Linked DNA regions of Homo sapiens: all the other regions are linked to region 3. Evidence: promoter capture Hi-C in human tissues and cell types (Jung and others, 2019). All regions are on one chromosome and are shown on one strand. The core of a region is centred on a gene start or on the middle of the fragment in contact, and the rest is flanking DNA. Distances in the headings are between cores, read along the strand shown.

Region 1 (2,700 bases), core at 28-2,527, 330 kb after region 3:
GTGCCAGTTATTTTGGGATCCATTTCCACAAATACGATAGTAACTTTATTTGTAGGCACCAGGTCAAAAGTGACAGGAAAAGTAAAGAGGAATTTGGTAAAATCTTGTAGGAGCTTCTGGTCTACCATCCCCTGACCCTTTGGGAAACAAATTTAAGAACCACCCTTTGTGGGGAGCATCTCCTGGATGGAGAGGATGGAAGGTGCCAGTGACCTCTACTGTCAGCAAAGGTATCTGTAGTTTTGGACTGTAGGAGTCAAATTCTGCAGTATTTTGCTTTATTTTACAGATAACACAAATGTGAAATTATATCCTGCTGATACAGTGTGTTAAGCCCATTTAAGTAGAGATTTCATATTTTGGTAAATATGATTGAGATATATTTTCAATATAGATGACACAAATTAAGAAAAAGGTCTGTCAGCAGTCAGTGAAATGGATAATCATAATAAAAAGAACAGGACATTATATTGAAATATTTACCCTGAAATCAAAGAATGTCAATGTGGCAAAGAATGTGCAGAGCATGTCGACCTCGTGGCTACAAAGATACACACTAAAACTCAGGAGGTGAAGTGATAGGAATAGTTTAATGCAGAGAAAAGCTTGAGTCATCACATTCTAGCCTTGCCATTTATCAGCTGAGTGATCTTGGGCATTGTTCATTAGCCCTTCAGACTAAATTTTCTCATCTGTACAAGGTAAATGTATTACCTAACTTAGAAAGTGGCTATGAAAATTAAATAAGGTAAAATGCCCAGCTCAACTTCTCAAAACCAAACAGTTGCTCAGTAAATATTATGAGCTTACCAAAGTCACAAAACCTGTTGGCAGAGCTGGAGATGGAACTCGGGTGTCCTAATAGTTTATGTGATGCCCTTTCCAAGGCCACACTGTTTCAGGTCTTACATTAAGTCATTTAAAGCTAAGATTCAGCTTTATTGGTATGCAAATGAATGGGCCTACAAATATGATTTCAACTAAAACTAAGGTTAAATACTGATCTTTGTGAACCCATTGATAGGCTATATTTTATTCAGCACCGTCTTTACAAAAGCCACTTTCATGGCCTAGAGTATGGCTGAATCCGGTTTGATATAAAACCTTTATATTAAACCACATCTCTGTAATTACTCCTCTTTGGTCTTTTCCCATGTTCTCTAGAGGTTAGAACTAGAAGCCTAATTTCTTTGACAATTAGCATTATCTCCAAACATGAATATAGCACATTAATAGATTGTTATATTAAAGAGAATTTGTGAATCTCAAATAACAAGAAATTGACAGAGCTCATAGGAAGAAATGCTCAAGTAGAGTTCCCCTCTTCCCTGTGTAGCACTCCTCCCCGGTAAAAAGGGGATTTATTTTGTCCAGATAGACATGGTGGGCCATATTCAGTGTAGCACATATCACAACTTTTGGGAAAGACCCGAGAAATTCTTCCTCACTGAATGAGATAAACATAGCACTTGTTTCTATGGCAATGGTAAAACAACAACGTATCCATCTGTCTGGCTACATAATGGACACCTGACCTCACACCTTCTTCTTTCAAAATATATCACGTTATTTTAGAGGGAAAAAGTTTTCAAATAAAATGACTTTTATCCAATTATGGGTTATTTTAAAAATCTGCTATCTCTTTTCTCATCGAATTTCACCCATGGTGGAGATATTTCACTGACAAGATGTTGATTGTCATTCTGTGGAAGACAGTGTAGATTGGTTTGTGTTGCTCCACCAAAGGTGCAAATCAGAGGTAGGGAGATTTTGGTTCAATATGTCAAAGAGTTTCCAGAGCTGCTCAACAAGGGAAGAGCTGGGAGATCCTGAGGAGGTACTGGGTATTAAGGACAGGATCCTTTAACAGACAGAAGTTTGGTCCAGATAATGAGCAAGATCACTTGTTACATGAACGTTCTGTGGTGCTAGGTTTACAAAATGCATGCCATAGAAAGATGTTAATGAAAACTTACCCTTTTTTTTTTGCACAACAAATTTTGGAGGCAGATTAATACAAATGGTAAAGACACAGAGTGGGGTCAGACTTCCTGACAGATCTGTCAATAAGCTCTGCTCATTATTAGCTGTATCACTTGGGCAAGTTACTGACGGTTTCTGTGCCTCAATGTCCCCATTTGGAAAATGGGGCTAATAACAGCATATATTTATAGTGTTGTTATGATGATTCTATGAGTGAGTACATGCGAAGTGCTTTGAAAAGCACTTGGTTCAGATTAATCTTCTGTACTCTTCCACCAAATGTTAGTGTCTTCTTCTCCACAAAATTATATCATATTTGACTATACAAAAGGATGTCTGTGTGATCCAAAAGCAAGCAGGGATAGTAACTACATGGTACAAATCCATGCTATCCCACTGTATTGCCATGATAGATATTGCCTTCTAACACGTCACTAAATCCCACTGCACCTAGATGTGACCTCAGCATCCTTCTCAAAGCAGAGATCTAGAGCAGACAAATGAAAAGAAACCTATTTGTCATTTCTGCTTTTGTTAGTTTGTTTAAGAAATCTGGATTTAAACTTTAACTGTAAAACTTGTCAGGGTCAGAGATTAAACCTTCCATTGCTATATGTACTCCACTTTTTGCTTTAGTGTGACATTTTCACGTGGATTTGTCAAATTACCACAAGACTGCTTTTATCTGTTTATTTTTTATATGAGAAGTTGTACATT
Region 2 (2,700 bases), core at 104-2,603, 330 kb before region 3:
TGAAACTTTTCTCTTACTCAAGGTTATAAAGGTTTAAGCTGATATTTTCTTTTAAGAGTTTTATAGTTTTCATTTTGTAAACTAGTTTTATGAAACTATAGTAGTTCTTACAGTGAGGTCTTTGATCTATTTTGTGTGAATTTTTCTACATAGTGTGAGGCAAGGGTTCAGCACCATTTGCTACAAAGTCTATTCTTTGTCCATTGAATGGTTTGAATAGTTGAGTTGAATCTGTAGATCAGTTTGGGAAATATTGCCCATGAACATGGGTGTATTCATGGTATCTGATCTATGAAAATGGTATGTCTTTCCATTTATTTAGGTTGTCTTTAATTTCTTTCAATAATATTTTATACTTTCCAGAACACAAGTTTTTCACTTCCTTTGTTAAATATATTTGTAAATATTTTATTATTTTTGATGCTATAAGAAATGAAATTATTTTCTTTATTTCATTTTGGATTGTTCAGTGCAAGTGTGTAGAAATACAATTGATTTTTGTATAATGATCTTGTATCCTGCAGCATTGCAAAACTTATTAGTTTGAATAGTTTTTGCTAGATTATCTAGGATTTTCTGAATCATGATGACTTAATCATGTCATGTATACATATATTTTACTTCTTTCTTTCAAATTTTATTGCTTTCATTTCATTTTCTCCCCTAATTGGCTCACCTTGTATAATGTTAAATGGAAGTAGTGAGAATAATCACTCTTGTCTTGTTCCTGATCTTAGGGGAAAAACATTCAGTTCTTCACCCTTATGTATTACACAAGTTGTATATACCTTACCTGAACTAGTTGGGATCAGAAGTGTTCTGGATTTGGTGGTTGTTTTTTTGGATTTTGGTATATTTGCATTGTACTTACCAGTTGAATATCCCAAATAAAAAAACCAAAAATTTGAAATGATCCAGTGAACATTTCCTTTGAGCGTGATGTCAGCACTCAAAAAGCTTTGGATTTTAGGGCATTTTGGATTTTGGACTTTCAGATTTGGGATGCTCAACATGTATTAACTGTGGGTTTTTCATATATGCACTTTATCAAGCTGAGAAAGTTCCCTTCCATTCCTAGTTTTTTATAAACAATATTTTAGTCTTGCATTGTGTGAAATGTTTCCCTTTTCTATTGAGATGATCATGTGAGATGATCATGTTTTGTTCTTTATTGTATTGATATGATGTATTACATTGATTAATTTTTGGTCTGTAAACATTTGTGGGCTGTTATCCATTACAGTGTCTGCTCAACAGTTATACCTTGACAAGTGTGAGATAAATGCTGAGTCCTGGCCATGTTGCTGTCCCTCATTTTTAAAAAAAAACATTTGATATTAAGTATGGTATTTCTAATGGAAGCTTCTATTAAATGTCACACTGTAAAATTCAAAATTTGCCATTTCTCAGTTTCCTAAACTTAATAGAGCTCTTACTAAATTGTCTTTATGAGAAATGTGTCTCTTCCTATTTATCTGAAAGTAGATGAAGAGAATTTTGTATTGCTCCAGCCCTTCAGCCAAAATTAAATCAGAATAGGATGAAATTCTTAAACAACATGAGTGTGTATCTATAATACACCTTTCAAAAGGAACAAGTTCTTACCAAATTATGCTGTTGTTTTTACTGGAGTCTTAGCTTTTATGATTTTAAAAACATCTCTAAGGCTCAAATTCTATCGTTCTTGATTTGAAATCAACCTCTTCTTTTCCTATATCGTTGGAAGGGTTACACAGCTATGGCCCAAAAGCCAAATTTGGCCTGTAGATATGTTTTATTTGTCCGTAGACTTTTGAAAGTTAGGTCAAGCATGTGCTCCTAGCTAGACACCACATTCAATCTTCCTATTGTCTTTTATTATGCATTTAAGCATGGCTTTGGAGTTTGTAATTCTTGAAGTAAACATCTGGTTTTTGGCATTTTTATTTATCTCAATGGAACCATTATCTCTTGGCTTACCCAAATTTGAAATATTGGAATCATGGAATCATTATTAATAATTTTTATGAAGTTTTTTTAATATAAAAATCACTTAAATACAAATAGATTCTCATTATCTAAGATTTAGACAATCAAAAGTACAAAATGCTGAAAGTCCCTTTTCACTTCTGTCTACCACTTTTTTCTCATTTACATGTAATCATTGTCATTAAGTTGGGATGTGTTCTTCCAGCTCACTTTGTAGACTTTTACACACACACACACACACACACACACACACACACACGGGCTATTTTTTTGTATAAAAAATAGGCTTGACAAATATAGTCCAACTTATTAACAATGGTTACTTCTAGATGGGGAAGAAATAGTAGAGAGGAGTGAAGGGGCTTTTCAATCTTTAGCCATTACTACCAATTCTGTATAATCATGACTTACAAACATATTTATATGAAGACTAAGTCAGCAAGACACAAAACCCAGCAGCTATAAATGAGAATATTGATAGATTGACTATGTAAAAATATTATACTGTATCAGTCAGGGTTCAACCAGAGAAGCAGAACCAGCAGGGAGAATAATTATAAATACAAATTCAAATTTAAATACACACACACACACACACACACATACACATATATATAGACAGATATAGATGCAGATAGATAGATACATGTATAGAAAGATAGAGATGTGTGTGTACACATACAGATAGACACACACACACACACACACATATGGATTGGCTTGTGTGATTGT
Region 3 (2,700 bases), core at 105-2,604:
TTCTTCTTAACGCCAGTTTCAAAAACAACACTTATAAAATGATAGTAGTCCTACTGTTTTAAATATAAAAATAAGTGGGATGATGACCCAGGATACTTTCAAAAGGAAGACAAATGCACAAAGGTAGTGACAGTTATAATAATTATTTACTTTTTCAAAAAATTTTAGAAAACAAAAATCTATTATAGGCTTAAATTTGATAACATAAATACTGTGATAACTGGAACAATCACAACTCTGGGAAACTCAAAGACTTAAAAAAATTTACAAACTGTACATTTCAAATGTGTGAGATAGGTACAACAGTAGGTATGAATTTGAATAATAACATTTACAATGCAAACTTTAACAAAATATAGGAGTGAAAGTAAAGCTCTAAATAGCTGAAGAAGCCTAAAAGTTAAATTGCTTATTTTGCTAAGCTGTTCTTAATTTTTAAAAAATGTAGCCTTAATTGAACTCCTATCTGTTGAATATAAACAAAACAAGAAATTGATTTGACTTTTAAAACTGATAAATAGGAAGAATGGAAATGAGAACATCTGGTGAAAATAATGTTGACAGACAGCAGTTGGAATGCTGGAAAGAGACTCCTTTAAACTCAAAAGATAAAGAGGAGAATGAGGGAAAATATTAAGGTAGAAAAAAATTCTTAATAGGACTAGCCATTGGGCAAAGAGAAAAGCTAAAGGCATTTTGGAGTAACAATCTTTTCAAATACGTTCTCCCTTTTGTGTAGGAAATTTTTTTGTTAGTTTGGAATCTTACCTTTCTTCCATATTTCATAAGATGAGACAGATAACTTAAAACGAAGCAGTAAACAGTTTGCAACAATATCTTTAATTAAAAAGAAAACAATTTTCGTAAATTATTTGTAGTTTCACTCTAAGTGGTCACAATTTCATGGCCTATTAGAATATTTGCTGAAATAAATGCATTAAAGACTATTGAACCTATATGTAAACTCTAAAAGAAGAAATTCATTATCTTTTAAAAATATCTGAATTATCTTAATGAGTGCTATGACAATAATTGTTGTTCCAAGAAAACAATAACAATCTATTTATTGAAACTCATTTCTCTTAAATGTTCCTGCTTCTTTGCTGTAACAGTGTGTTATTGTTAAAAGGTTCTGACCTGCTCTTCAATTATCTGAATGCATCTACAGCCTAAAGCAAATATTTACCTTATGTCCACAATTAAAAAAAAAAAACCTAACAAACAGCTAAAACACAATTCACACAGGGCCTTACCGAAGAGAAGGAGGTATATTTTGCACTGAAAGACCCCAAGTGTGTCACCGAAGGGCTCCATGAAAGCATCCTGTCCCATGCATGCAGTGCCCTGTTCTCAGTGGTAACTTGGACCAGCAGCTGCTGGTTTATTTGCTAGGGAAATTAGCAGTGAGGTAACAGACCCTATCTTGCCTCTTGCTTCTGTGATTTGAATACAGAATGAATGTGTATACAAAGGACACAGGGAGTGGGAACACCTGTTATGTGCTTAGCAAGAATACAGGCTTATGGCTTTCAGAAGAGTTTCTTAGCAACTACCAGTAATTGTCTATATATTTCATAAATTATACTTAGTTATTAAAAAATCACATGAAGGAAAACATCCTTTTGCGTGACTTTACTGAAAAATGGCATGTTTTCATAATGAAAGAATATTGTGAGATTTCCTTAAAAACAAAAGCTGGTTTTCTATCATGCAGAACTATGCCATTATTATTTTAAAATTAAAAAAAATTATATGAAAATTGAAGTAGCTCATGTATCTGCTAAACAGTTATAAATCTTCATGAAGTCACTAACATGTAAAAATTCTACCAATGAATCAAAAGAGAGATCCAGAATATATTTAAAACGTATTTTTTCTATGCAGTGTTTCCTATTACAATGACTGATTTCATTTAATCTTTGAATTCATCTTATTTTTAAAAGCAAATCACAGGTGTGTTTCCAACTGGGACTGAGGCATGGACCATGCATAATTATAATGAAAAGTGCATGCCAGGAGATAGTATCTGAGGCCACATTTTCACAGCTGATGCATAGAGGAAGTGAACCAATGATCTAGAAAAGATCTTACCTCTACTGCAGTGTCCAGGTTACAGGTTTTCAACCTGGTCTCTCCATTGTCATGGCAGCAGATAGTCTAAGCATGTCCGCTTAATTTACTAAGTTATTAGTTAACCCCTATTTGCAAGAAGGCTCTGGTTCTAGCCTTGTTATATAAAATGTTAAGGATATATCCAAATCTGCATCAAATCATCAAATCAAGGAAAATTCCTTGCATGCATCAGTTTTAACAGTAAAGGCCCACTGAAGAAGTTCAATGATAAGAGGGGAAGGAAGACTATACCTCAAGCATAATTAAAGTAAAAAAGGAATGATAGTAACTTTGGAATCCAAGTTTGGAAACACTCTTTGCATTAGGGCTCTGAACTCTTCTAGAAGGACTTCTATAAGCAAAGAAAGTAAGTGACTATTGGGAAAACGAAGTCCTCTTCAGAGATCAGTCACTTTCAGATCCCTCCATGCTTCAGAAAAATGGCAAGAGCTCCTCATGCTTCCCCCACCTCCCTGCAAAATAATAACAATGCCACAACTTTCTCTGCACTGTCTCTAAATCTGGTACACACATCTATTGCAGCACTTATCTCCTTAATCTTTATTTTATTGGATGTTTATTTTCCCT

The links. Contacts are between HindIII fragments. The study calls those that stand out against the background at their distance.
Region 1: a fragment that was not itself captured here is called in contact with the fragment with the promoter of HEPACAM2 in region 3 in 1 of the 25 tissues and cell types used here (lymphoblastoid cells).
Region 2: a contact is called between a fragment that was not itself captured here and the fragment with the promoter of HEPACAM2 in region 3, in 1 of the 25 tissues and cell types used here (aorta).

The regions. Positions count from the first base shown.
Region 1 is chr7:93,551,505-93,554,204 of GRCh38, forward strand. The region is part of intron 2 of CALCR (calcitonin receptor); the gene reads right to left. All of the region lies in intron 2 of LOC105375400 (a long non-coding RNA gene), which reads left to right. Among named protein-coding and RNA genes, the nearest start is that of CALCR, 22 kb to the right of the region's middle. The HindIII fragment of the contact is 5,748 bases long and covers 1-2,700 here.
Region 2 is chr7:92,899,364-92,902,063 of GRCh38, forward strand. All of the region lies in intron 1 of CDK6-AS1 (CDK6 antisense RNA 1), which reads left to right. Among named protein-coding and RNA genes, the nearest start is that of CDK6, 64 kb to the left of the region's middle. The HindIII fragment of the contact is 6,286 bases long and covers 1-2,700 here.
Region 3 is chr7:93,225,115-93,227,814 of GRCh38, forward strand. It overlaps HEPACAM2 (HEPACAM family member 2), which reads right to left and starts at 1,355. Exons shown (of 10, transcript NM_001039372.4): 1 at 1,254-1,355. The coding sequence starts at 1,332. The HindIII fragment of the contact is 8,113 bases long and covers 1-2,700 here.